3 separate regions of the Homo sapiens genome follow, and regions 1 and 2 are each linked to region 3. The links are contacts of gene promoters, found by promoter capture Hi-C in blood cells and fetal thymus (Javierre and others, 2016). All regions are on one chromosome and are shown on one strand. Each heading gives the region's core, a stretch centred on a gene start or on the middle of the fragment in contact. The rest is flanking DNA. Distances are from core to core; before and after follow the strand shown.

The links. Contacts are between HindIII fragments. The CHiCAGO score rates a contact against its expected background, and 5 or more counts as called.
Region 1: a fragment that was not itself captured here is called in contact with the fragment with the promoter of HEXA in region 3 in 8 of 17 cell types (total B cells, naive CD4 T cells, M1 macrophages and 5 more); the score reaches 9.1 in total B cells.
Region 2: a fragment that was not itself captured here is called in contact with the fragment with the promoter of HEXA in region 3 in 7 of 17 cell types (M1 macrophages, M0 macrophages, M2 macrophages and 4 more); the score reaches 7.2 in M1 macrophages.

Annotation. Positions count from the first base shown.
Region 1 is chr15:72,495,409-72,499,526 of GRCh38, reverse strand. All of the region lies in intron 1 of ARIH1 (ariadne RBR E3 ubiquitin protein ligase 1), which reads right to left. Among named protein-coding and RNA genes, the nearest start is that of ARIH1, 23 kb to the right of the region's middle. The HindIII fragment of the contact is 1,773 bases long and covers 1,574-3,346 here.
Region 2 is chr15:72,454,705-72,458,765 of GRCh38, reverse strand. The region is part of intron 1 of TMEM202-AS1 (TMEM202 antisense RNA 1); the gene reads left to right. Among named protein-coding and RNA genes, the nearest start is that of TMEM202-AS1, 18 kb to the left of the region's middle. The HindIII fragment of the contact is 7,934 bases long and covers 1-4,061 here.
Region 3 is chr15:72,374,267-72,378,742 of GRCh38, reverse strand. It overlaps HEXA (hexosaminidase subunit alpha), which reads left to right and starts at 2,729. Exons shown (of 14, transcript NM_000520.6): 1 at 2,729-3,023. The coding sequence starts at 2,771. HEXA-AS1 (HEXA antisense RNA 1) reads right to left here and starts at 2,630. Exons shown (of 1, transcript NR_027262.1): 1 at 1-2,630. RefSeq lists enhancers at 1,970-2,019, 2,350-2,489, 2,381-2,937, 2,938-3,493. The HindIII fragment of the contact is 8,315 bases long and covers 1-4,476 here.

The DNA.
Region 1 (4,118 bases), core at 1,211-3,710, 120 kb before region 3:
AACATTTGGTTATAATCACAAGACAAAAATATTTTGATAACATATAACTATAGCTGGCATAAAGTGGGGTTCTCAAGGATGGAGGAAGAAAAAGGAAAGAGATAATGTCAAAAGGAAGAGACATATTAAAGCTATAAATGTAATCATTGTAAGATATAACATTTACATTTGTTACCACATGCATGTATTGCTTTTTTTTTTTCTTACAAATAACAAACTGGAGAAAGAGCTACAATAATTATACATTAAATACCATTACTGGCTGGGCTCAGTGGCTCACGCCAACACTTTGGGAGGCCAAGGCAGGTGGATCATTTGAGATCAGAAGTTCGAGGCCAGCCTGACCAACATGGTGAAACCCCGTCTCTACTAAAAATACAAAAATTAGCCAAGTGTGGTGGCGTGCGCCTCCCAGCTACTCAGGAGGATGAGGCGGGAGAATGGCTTGAACCCGGGAGGCAGAGGTCGCAGTGAGCCGAGATCACACTACTGCACTCCAGCCTGGGTGACAGAGCAAGACTTTGTCTCAAAAAAAAAAAAAAAAAAAAAAAAAAAAAAAAAAAAATTTATGAAAAGGTGCAAACGACATAAAAAGGCAATTCAGAAAAATGTAAATTAAAACAACTAGTATTTTCTTTACCAGATTAATAAAAATTTGAAGAGTTCTTTTTTTTTTTTATTTTTGAGATGGAGTGTTTCACTCTTGTTGCCCAGGCTGGAATGCAGTGGCACGATCTTGGCTCCCTGCAACCTCCGCCTCCTGGGTTCAAGCCATTCTCCTGCCTCAGCCTCCCAGGTAGCTGGGATTACAGGCATGCACCACCACACCCAGCTAATGTATTTTTAGTAGAGACGGGGTTTCGCCATGTTGGTCAGGCTGGTCTCCAATTCCTGACCTCGGGTGATCCACCGCCTCAGCCTCCCTAAGTGCTGGGATCACAGGCGTGAGCCACCACGCCAGACCAAGATTCTTAATAGTTATCAGCAAGGGTATACAGAAAATGGTAGTTCACACACATGTAAATATAAACATAACTTTTGAAAACACTCAGCCTTCTTTACAAAAACTCTGTAAGGGAAAGGAAGAAGACACAAATATGAGTGAATTAGATGTCCAACAATAGGAAAACTGATAAATTGATATGGTTATATTAGAAAATACCATACAATTTTTAAATCTATAGTGTACTGCTAAAGGAAAAAATAGCAACTTGCAGAATAAGGTAGAATTGGAGCAGAAGTGAGAAAGCACAAATGTGCCTCATTTTTATTTAAAAAAAAAACATTTTGGTTGCAGATTAAAGTCTATTGACATAAGAATGCATCATTTAAAAAAGTCAAATCTTTCTGAGCAGTGATTTACATCTAGTCAAGAAGTTCACATCTTCACCTCCTTAAGACTCCCCTTTTGTGATCTATTTAGTGGAGCATTAAATACCTAATACCTTTGGTAGAATCAAAAACAGATAACTGAAAAGGTTTCCAAGACCAGCTGAAAAAAAATCTTTAAAAAACCCAAAACATTTTAACACTATTGATTCGAAACATCCCTACTATGGTATATTATGAAGCTTCACTTCCACATTCAAGAAACTAGATCTCCTCAATATAGTATATGGAGTTTATAAAAGTATTAACTAACATCAGCATTTGAGTCACAATTTAGGCTGTGGTAAGATCTTAGGTTTTACAGCTAAGATTGCTGGTTTGAAAACCCAACAATCTTCACTGAAGAACAAATACATATTTTTGTCTGACTTTTCATTTGGGAAGCCTTGAGAAGCACTCTACTAACCTATTTAGGAAAACATAGCCTCTTCTTTTTAGAAGCATAACAGCATAGAAAATGATGCAAATATCTGCATCATTCCACCATCCCTATAGCACTCACTTTTCAGCCAATACTAGAATGACACATAAAACCTAACACTTAACCTTATAAGCCTTCCATTTCATCTTCAAGTGTTTGCAACGTATGATTAAGTTTTAAAACTTGCCTATAACTGATGTTTTAGGATTCAGTATAAAAATGCTATTGCCCTTCCATCCTAACCCTGTTTTTTTTTTAAGCCAGAAATTGCTATTATAACTGCTATCATTTAGCAAGTAAACTGATACAAATACTTAAGTAAATGGTACAAACATTTAAATAGAATTTCTTAATCTTCCTCATAGTGATGTCAGCGAAATAACAGGAAGATTTAGATTATTTTCATCAAAATATTCCAGAGTCAGGAATATAAATAAACATTAACACATAAATATACACACATAGCTCAATCTATCTTCTCTGTTTCTCCTCCCAGTTTACAAAATAGGATCCTTTATCATAGTTTCTGAAAATCAGCCAGCTCCATGAATCAATTAATACCATTAATATCCTCCATTTAATTATCTCTTCTATTATTCGGCATCTTAAAGACAGTGGCAAATGCCATTTACTTTGTTGCCTAAGTGCCAAGTAGGCTTCTGGTTTAAAACATAATAATAAAATTGTGCCCTTTACAAGTACATCACATTTGTCATGTCAAAACAAACTTTCCCACAAAGATTTATAGGATAAATGATGTGCCCTTAAATAATGAGGTACTGGTTGCCAATGTCTGTGTGTAAGTATGTGTGTTTAATGGTCTTTTAATGACTTGTCTTTGGAATGATTCTGTCCTACCTTTGCTGCTGCAGCCCGCCTGTCCTTTGCATCACTGAATTCATACTTCTGGAAGTACCCAATATGCACTGTAACAGACAGATGGACAGATCAATGGGCCACAGCGGCAAAGGCCAAAGAGACACACTTGATAAAAATTAAAATCAAGGTATATATAAAGGGGTGGGGAAAACCAGAAGAAAACACCCCTATCTATATTCCATAGTAAAATACCTGAACTTGGTATTTGCAACCATCCCATGCATATATCCAAATAAGCTATTCTTGATTATCACAACAGGCAAAATAAATCAGTATTTTTAATACCACTGACAGTTACAGATACAGCAGGCACTTTTGTAACCAGGCCACACAGTTTCTTCAAATAGAGATTGCTCTTTGGTACATAAACTATCACATCCATAGAAGGCTTTCTGCACCAAAATTAAAATGGCAATTATTGCAAGCAGGAAGTTTCTACTGTGACACTAAGGTCTGTGTGCTTAGAGTATGTTTGTATTTCAGCATTTTGCCATTCTACATTCCTGCCTTTATAAAAACGTTTGCTAGCACCACATCTAGGTAAGACAACTTTGGGGGCTTAAAACAATATGTAACAGTATTATTTAGGTCGATTACCAAACTATAATAGTAAGACATTTATATACAAAACTATGGCCAGGCACAGTGGCTCAAGCTTGTAATCCCAACACTTTGGTAGGCTGAAGTGGGAGGACTGCCTGAAGCCAGGAGTTTGAGACTAGCCTGGGCAACAGACCCCATCTCCAAAAAAAAATTTTTTTTAATTAGGTGTGGTGGTGTGTGCCTGTAGTCCCAGCTGCTCAGGAGGCTGAGGCGGAAGGATTGCTCGAGCCCAGGAGTTGAAGGCTGCGGTGAGCTGTGATTACACCACTGCACTCCAGCTTGGGTGACAGAAAAACAGTATCTCTTGAGGAAAAAAATTGTAAGATATATTTTTGTATAGTATATATATTTGTATATCATAGTTTATATAGCATATATAGTTACACCTCAATAAGCTTCTAAAAGCTATTTTAAAAAAACAAACCTTAAAACAATGTCTCAACATTCTAGCTCAAGCCAGTATAAATATTGTGTTTTGATACAGAAATTTTTGCCTGACATTAACCCAAATACCTGTCTGACCTGTCTTCACCAAGAGCTTACAGCCATGAAAGAACAATTTTAATTTAATCAATTGTTTTATTTTGCATGCAACTAAAATAAACTAGATCCATGCTACATGTTTAAGGAAGTTTCAGGAAACTTTTGTTTATAGGAGATCTAACCATTTGTATATTCTTTTGTTTATAGGAGATCTAACCATTTGTATATTCTTTATTATTTTAACCCATCAAGAACATGGACAAATAAAGAGACATGATAACCAAATGCAATCCATGATCCTTGACCAAAAGAAGAAAAGCTATAAAAGACGTATTGGACAAAT
Region 2 (4,061 bases), core at 686-3,185, 81 kb before region 3:
TGCTTCTATGCTAGTTATGTATAAGTGGCCATTTTAAAAGTTAAATTCCCCCTTCAGTACTGACTCCTCCAAAAAAAAGGCAAATATAAAATGTCAAAATAATAGTAACGATAGCTAAAATGTTTTCCAAAGAATGAAAAAGATAACAAGCAAACACACTTTAATTTTTGTAGAGAGATTAAATACTTGCAGAGAGATTGAAGGGCCTGCTTTCAGTCTGTGTAAGTATGCCTATTTGCAAAAGGGCTTTACTCTCTTATCCCCACCTACCCTCTCTTTCTCTGACCTTGCTGATCCTCCCAATGTATTTCAGCTTTAAAAGGATAAGAAGTTTTAGTATGGGAGTCATTAAAAGTCCTAATTCAGCCTTAATTCCTAAAAGTAAAAGAAACTAGGCTTGATAAACATAAGGAAACATGAATTCAAGAAATAGATAGGAACACAAAAGAAAATACTAGTGGGGCATGATGGTTCACACTGTAATCCCAGCACTTTGGGAGGCTGATGCAGGAGGATTGCTTGAACCCAGGAGTTTGAGACCAGCCTGGTCAATATATTGAGACCCCATCTCTACAAAAAATTTAAAAAGTGGTGCTCACTGTGGTCCCAGCTATTCAAGAGGCTGAGGTGGGAGGATCACTTGAGCCTGGGAGATTGAGGATACAGTGAGTTACAATCACACCACTGAACTACAGCCTGGGTGACAGAGCAAGACCCTGTTTAAAAAAATGCTACTGGAATACATTGCTTTTTCAAAGATCAATATATAATAACCAATTGTTATAGCTGTGAAAATTACACATTATATACAAAATAAAAAGCACTGATTTGCCACGTTGGGCAAAACCACAATAATTTTCCAACTTTAAGCCACTTCTGCCATCATCAAGATATCAGATCTAAAAGTACCAGAAAAATAGGGATGAGACTTGAAATTTTCTAAAAATTTTATGCTACTCAGATACATTTTGCTTTACAGAAATAGAAACAGAACACACATAAAATACATATTTACCTGTGTTTCACTGTTAGAATGTAAGCTAGTGCTAGAATAAATATGAAAATATAGGAGAAGGGGCTGAAATGCCAAAGTCCTTTCATATCAGGAGACAAAAGATCAAAAGATACACTTTTCACATAACAGAATCACAGAGTATTATGACACAGTAGTTGGTTCTACTTCAACTTATATATGAATGAGAAAATCAGAACAATTATGACCTGTCCATAGTGATATATTAGCTAGTTACTATCAAAAAAACACAAAACTCTCATCTCTTTCATCATAGTGTAGTACACTTTCCTTTTTCTTTTTTTTTTTTTTTTTTTTTTTTTTTGAGATGGAGTCTCACTCTGTGGCCAGGCTAGAGTGCAGTGGCACAATCTCAGCTCACTGCAACCCCCGCCTCCCGGGTTCAAGTGATTCTCCTGCCTCAGCCTCCCGAGTAGGTGGGACTACAGGCACCCACCACCACACCCAGCTAATTTTTATGTTTTTAGTAGAGACGGGGTTTCATCATGTTGGCCAGGATGGTCTCGAGCTCTTGACCTCGTGACCCACCCACCTCGGCCTCCCAAAGTGCTGGGATTACAGGCATCAGCCACCACGCCTGGCCTACTTTTCTTTAATCCTTGCTTTTATAGGAGACAATAGAGTAGAGGCTCTGGAGTCTAAATGCTTGATTTCAAATCCTACGTCACCACCTAACTAGTTATGTAATTTTGGGCAAGTTACTCAATATTTCTGGGTCTTATCTGTATAGTGGAGGATCTAATAGTACTCAAAATAAAAGTATAACAATTGATATATTGTATGTAAAATGCTTAATACAGTGCCTGGCGCATGGTAAGCATTCAATAAACACTAGCTATTTGTTACTCAGTGTAAATAAAGTTTTTTTGGAGTTTTGTTTTTTTTTTTTTTTTTTTTAGATGGAGTCTCGTTCCGTCGCCTAGGCTGGAGTGCAATGGTGTGATCTAGGCTCACTGCAACTTCCGCCTCCTGGGTTCAAGTGATTCTCCTGCCTCAGCCTCCTGAGTAGCTGGGATTACAGGAGCCCACCACCATGCCGGACTAATTTTTGTATTTTTAGTAGAGACAGGATTTCACCATGCTGGCCAGGCTGGTTTCGAACTCTTGACCTCAGGTGATCCGCACACCTCAGCCTTCCAAAGTGCTGGGATTACAGATGTGAGCAACTGCACCCAGCCTAAATAAAGTTTTTAAATGATAACATCACGGGCAAGAGTGTCACTAAAAATGTGTAAAACAAGGGGTTGAAGAAGTTGAATTTGTGTATGGAAGCAGAGAAGAGAGAAAAGGGCATGGTGTGGAGAGGGAAATTATGAGTCAGGAAACAAACTAGAGTTAATTACAGTAAGATAATCAGAAGAGAAGTGGACCATAGGATAATTTTATTTTGTTTTATTTATTTAATTTTTGAAACAGGGCCTCACTCTGTCTCCCAGGCTGGAGTGCAGTGGTGTGATCATGGTTCATTGCAGCCTCAACCTCGTGGGCTCAAATGATCCTCCCACCTCAGCCTCCTGAGTAGCTGGGACTACCGGCGCACGCCACCACACCCAGCTAACTTTTTAAAATTTTTTGTAGGGACAGGGTCTCACTATATTGCCCAGGCTGGTCTCGAACTCCTGGACTCAAGGATCCTCTGGTCTTATTCTCCCAAAGTGCTGGGATTATAGGCATGAGCCACCATGCCCAGGCTAAGGCAAATCTTACCATAACAATTAGTTCTTAACAAACCAACCAACAAACTACATCCAGGCATTGTGGCTCACGCCTATAATCCCAGCACTTTGGGAGGTCGAGGCGGGGGGATCACCTGAGGTCAGGAGTTCCAGACCAGCCTAACATGGTGAAACCCCATCTCTACTAAAAATACAAAAATTAGTTGGGCGTGGTTGCGGGCACCTGTAATCCCAGCTACTCAGGAGGCTGAGGCAGGAGAATTGCTTGAACCCAGGAGGCAGAGGTTGCAGTGAGCCGAGATTGTGCCATTGCACTCCAGCCTGGGCAACAAGAGCTAAACTCCATCTCAAAAAAAAAAAAAAAAAAAAAAAAAATATATATATATATATATATATATATTCTAAAAGCTGGACCAGTATGCTGTATAACATGAATTATATCACCCTACCAAACAGTTAAAGGCCAGAAAGTTTGGTTCTGGAGTCAGAGCCAAAACTGTTTCAGGTGGTAGCTGCAGGGATACCCATTAACCACTGGTAACAAAGAGACTTTTGTTCACATATTTATAGTATTTTGTCCCCAGTTTTTATAGGAAAATTTGTTCAAAGTTACCAAAACAATGATAGCACTCTTAAGAGTTCTATGGACCCCATCTTGAACCTTTCTTCTGAGATGGCAGTGTCTATGTAAGCTCTTTATGTGCCCTTAAAAACAGCTAGAGGTATTAGAAATTAGAATCTTTATAATCAACTCTTGGTTCCTCAGAATGCCCAAACAAGTAAAATTGACTGAGTTTGGAGCTGGAAGGGACTTTAGACATCCCTAATTTTACAGAAGGGAAAACTGAGGCTCCACAGGGTAAACCAACTTGCCTGTCATCAAAGTAACCAATAGCAGAGCTGGCACTAGAATTTCAGTCACCTAATTTCTAGTGCAATGCTATTTCCACTGTCAAAAGTTATTAAAATTGTATATTTAAATGGGTCTTTTAGAAAATTTAGTCCAGAGATTCCTAAATAATTACCCAGGAGCTGGTCCTGGATTGGCTGTAAAAAATTATTAGTAGTGCTTCTGAGAGATACATATCTTTGGCTCCATCTTCAGAGATTCTGATTAAGTATGATCAGGATATGGAATCTGTATTGTTTAAAACTTCTGAGTTATTCTCTCAATCAGCTAGGCCTAGGAAGCATTCTCCAGACCAGTCATTTATCAGATGTACCAGTACCATCAATAACATTAGTATAGCTTCTGCTTGAATACCTTCAATATAAAATCTATTACATAAACAAGTCCTTGATAGTATGATATCTAAGCAAAGGAGGATGGGGACGAGGTTTAAATTCTATTT
Region 3 (4,476 bases), core at 1,480-3,979:
TAATTTTAATTTTAAGTTTTTTTGGTATATAGTAGGTGTATATATTTATGGGGTACCTGAGATGTTTTGATATAGGCATCCAATGTGAAATAAGCACATCATGGAGAATGGGGTTATCCATACCCTCAATCATTTATCCTTTGAGTTATAAACAATCCAGTTACACTCTTTTAAAATATACAATTATTATTGACTATAGTCACCCTATTGTGCTCTCGAATAGTATGTCTTATTCAGGCTACTTTTTTTGTACCCATTAACCACCCCCATCTCAAAAAAGAAAAAAATAAAGAGAGATGGGATTTCCTCGTATTACCCATGCTGATCTTGAACTCCTGGGCTCAAGTGATCCTCCCATCTTGGCCTTCCACAGTGCTGGAATTGCAGGTGTGAGCCACCATCCCCAGCCTGTGATCCATTTTTAATTAAGTTTGTGTATGCTGTGAGGTAGGGGATCATAGTTCATTTTTCCCACATAGGGATATCTATTTTCTTCATCACCTTTTATTGAAAATAACTTGCCTTCCCCACTAAATTAAATTGGTGTCTTCATTGAAATGGAGTAATAATCAAATGGCTCTTTTCCTGGACCCTCTATTCCGTTCCATCTATTTGTCTGCCATTATGCCAAAACCCCACTCTAGTGTATAGTAAGGGGGGATATTTTGGAAGATCAACAAATTTATCTTGTGTAACTTACTTTTATGTATGCATAAGAATATTTGGTTTAAAAATCTGGTTAAGTCTAAAAGAGCTCTTTCAGTAATAATTAAATAACTGAATCCCTGTAATCCACCATGCTCAGCCCCATTAGTAATTTTTATAGCGTCTTTATTTGGATCTAGCTCTTTCATCTTGTGTAACTCTTTTAAGTAAATGACTCCTCCCTTCTGGTACAGGTTGAATATCCATAAAAGGGTGCCTTGGCATGTGCTCAGTCCTGAAATTCTACTTTGATCTACTGCTCTCATCTTTGAAACTGCTCTAAACACTCCCCCAAATTATTGATCCTGTGGGCCTGATTATGAACTTGGCTCTTCTGACAATACTTCTCAAATCCTGTACCTTTGGTAACATCTCTCCTGACTGGCAGAGTACCCAGACACTTAATTAATGCTGATGAAAATTAAGATTTAAGCAAAGAAGAAATTGGTGTAAGAATGCAAGCCTTAGGATCTGAAACTTGATGACTGTGGGATCTAATTTCTGCTTCTTTTGCTACAAGCTCTGTTTTTGAATAATCAACTTTCAAAGACAAATTGCTTGATGAATCTCTGTATTGTCAGAATGTTTCTTTGATTTCCCATCAAAGCCATGTATGTGTAACTAGTAATTAGGTACCTACGACCTGAATATAAATTATCATTATTTCAGTAGCCCTTTATTTGTTTTTGAGAAAGGGTTTCACTATACTGCCCAGGCTAAACTTGAACTCCTTGGTTCAAGTGATCCTGCCGCCTCAGCCTCCTGAATAGCTGGGAGTAGCTGGGACTACAGGGATGTGTTATCATGCCCAGTGAAAGCCCTTTATTTTTAAAAGTTCATTTTCCTGATCTTTACATGTATTTTAATACTAAAATTAAATTTAAAAATTTTAAAAAGTACCTACTAACCAAATAATGCCACCCAATAACAATAGCATTATTTGTATTATGTTCTGGTAATATAGTGGTGAACAAGGAAGACAGGGTCTCTGATAACTGTGGAATTCTCCTTGATCACTTCTCAAGCCTCTCTTCCGGATACTATTTCTTGGATCTACAGCTGTCTTCCTTCCCCACTTCTGTAGTTCAGTCTCTCATTATTCTCTACCTCCAATAAAAAGGGGCCTCCTAACTGGTTTCTTATGCAACTACTCAACATGGTATTTCTAAAATGCAGATCTTTCGGGATGATTTTCAATTGCTCAGAGAATAAATTCCTTGACTTTCTACGTAAGGCCCTGCAGGACCAGGCCCCTGTCATTATCTCTGAGCACTCTCCATCTTGCACCCAAAGCCCCAGCAATATCTTACTGCTTTCAGTAAATACACACCGGGCTATGTGGGGTTTTGTCTGGGGAAAGGGGATGTGAGTTGTAACTAAGAGATTTATAGTCAATCTTGAAGGGAAGAGCTCATATTGGAGGCAATGGAATGCCTCAAGCTGGCTCTGAAAGTACACATTTTTTCCAGTCATAAGTAGATCACATTTGTGTGATCTTGTGATCCTCTCTCTAGCAGAGCCGTGCAGACTACCTACTTCCGGCCCTTTCTTGCCCCACGAAATTTCACATCACAACGACTTGTGGTTTTAATCCTCCGTTTTTCTGCTTCTGAAGTTACTTCAGCCTGGCAAGTCCTTTACCTCCCCGTAGGCCTGGCGAGCTGCATCACAACATTCAAGATTCACCCTAGAGCCATCTGGGAAACTTTCTTCTCCAGGTCGCCCTGCGTCCTCGCCTCCCCACCCCGTTCTTCTCGAGTCGGGTGAGCTGTCTAGTTCCATCACGGCCGGCACGGCCGCAGGGGTGGCCGGTTATTTACTGCTCTACTGGGCCCGTGAACAGTCTGGCGAGCCGAGCAGTTGCCGACGCCCGGCACAATCCGCTGCACGTAGCAGGAGCCTCAGGTCCAGGCCGGAAGTGAAAGGGCAGGGTGTGGGTCCTCCTGGGGTCGCAGGCGCAGAGCCGCCTCTGGTCACGTGATTCGCCGATAAGTCACGGGGGCGCCGCTCACCTGACCAGGGTCTCACGTGGCCAGCCCCCTCCGAGAGGGGAGACCAGCGGGCCATGACAAGCTCCAGGCTTTGGTTTTCGCTGCTGCTGGCGGCAGCGTTCGCAGGACGGGCGACGGCCCTCTGGCCCTGGCCTCAGAACTTCCAAACCTCCGACCAGCGCTACGTCCTTTACCCGAACAACTTTCAATTCCAGTACGATGTCAGCTCGGCCGCGCAGCCCGGCTGCTCAGTCCTCGACGAGGCCTTCCAGCGCTATCGTGACCTGCTTTTCGGTTCCGGGTCTTGGCCCCGTCCTTACCTCACAGGTGAGTCGGACTTGTCCCGCCCTGTTCCTGGGCCCTGAGAGTGCCTGCCTGGGGACAGTTCCCCCAGGGCTCCAGAGACGCCCTATGGGCTTTTGTCCAGCCCTCTGATCACAGGCACTCCACTTCCTCCTCGAGCTGCATTAGGTTTTCATCCAAAGATAACTACTATAGGACTACGGTTCAATCAGGAGATTAATTTATGGAAAATACTGTGCCAGCAGAAATCTAAGGTGATCCTTCTGACCGTGTTCAAGCTAGCCAGGGTCCTAGTGAGACTGTGAGCAAGGGCTGAGTAGAGACCAGAGAAAACACTCAAAATTGGGGAGACATAATACAAGAACTATGCAAAGTTACATACAAGTTTCTGGCACATAGAATGTTTGGCGGGCGGATCACGAGGTCAGGAGTTCGAGACCAGCCCGGCCAACATAGTGAAACCCCGTCTCTACCAAAAACACAAAAAATTAGCCAGGCGTGGCGGCGCGCGCCTGTAGTCCCAGCTACTCGGGATGCTGAGGCAGGAGAATCGGTTGAACCCATGAGGTGGAGGTTGTGGTGAGCTGAGATCGCGCCACTGCACTCCAGCCTGGGCAACAGAGCAAGACTCCCTCTCAGAAAAACAACCCCCCCCCCCAAACAAAACAAAACAAAACAAAAAAAGTGTAAATTGTGAAAGAAATCATAGAACATAAGGAAGTGAGTTTCCAGCGGCCACTTGGAATGGGATGGTAGATGTAATTAGCCGGGACTGAAAAGAGGGTATTCCAGGCAGGAAGAAGGGCTTGAGCAGAGGCACAAAGAATTATGATTGAGTTCAAAGTTCAGGTCTAGTGGATGTGATGAGTGGGGGCTGGGGATTGAGGAGGGATGAGGGTGGGGAAAATGTGGGGTTGAAGAGTCAAGAGCGCTTTAGACATTGGTTTCACATAAAATGGAAGGGGCTAACAGTTTTCTTTTAGGCAGCTATGTAATCAGTACTGAAAATTGTATTTGAGGATAATTATTCCACAGCACATTTGTAAGTCGAGCCAACAATGTAAAGGAATACAATTCTGCTGCATGGGTTCAAAATTTAGAAGTTTCTTGATAATCTGGAATCTAGCTCTTTGGTTATATTGTATAGATGTTATGGGGGTGGGAGCCACATTTACGGTTAAGTCTTGTAGTAATATTTTATATGATGTTTCAAGTGTGTTTAAATTACTTTCACAAAAGTTATCATTTGATATATAGAATTAAAAGCATTTAATTATACAGATGACCCTTAGAGAGTGACATTTGATTTGGGGAAAGAAACACAATCTCAGCATCAGGGTAGTCCTTAACTGGTAAAATGCATTAAGCTGGAGAGGATAAGAGGCCTGCTGTTGAGTGTGGTAGATCACATTTTCCTCTGAATCCTTCATGACAAATAATAGAGTGCCTTACCCAAGATTGGCACTCAGAATATGTT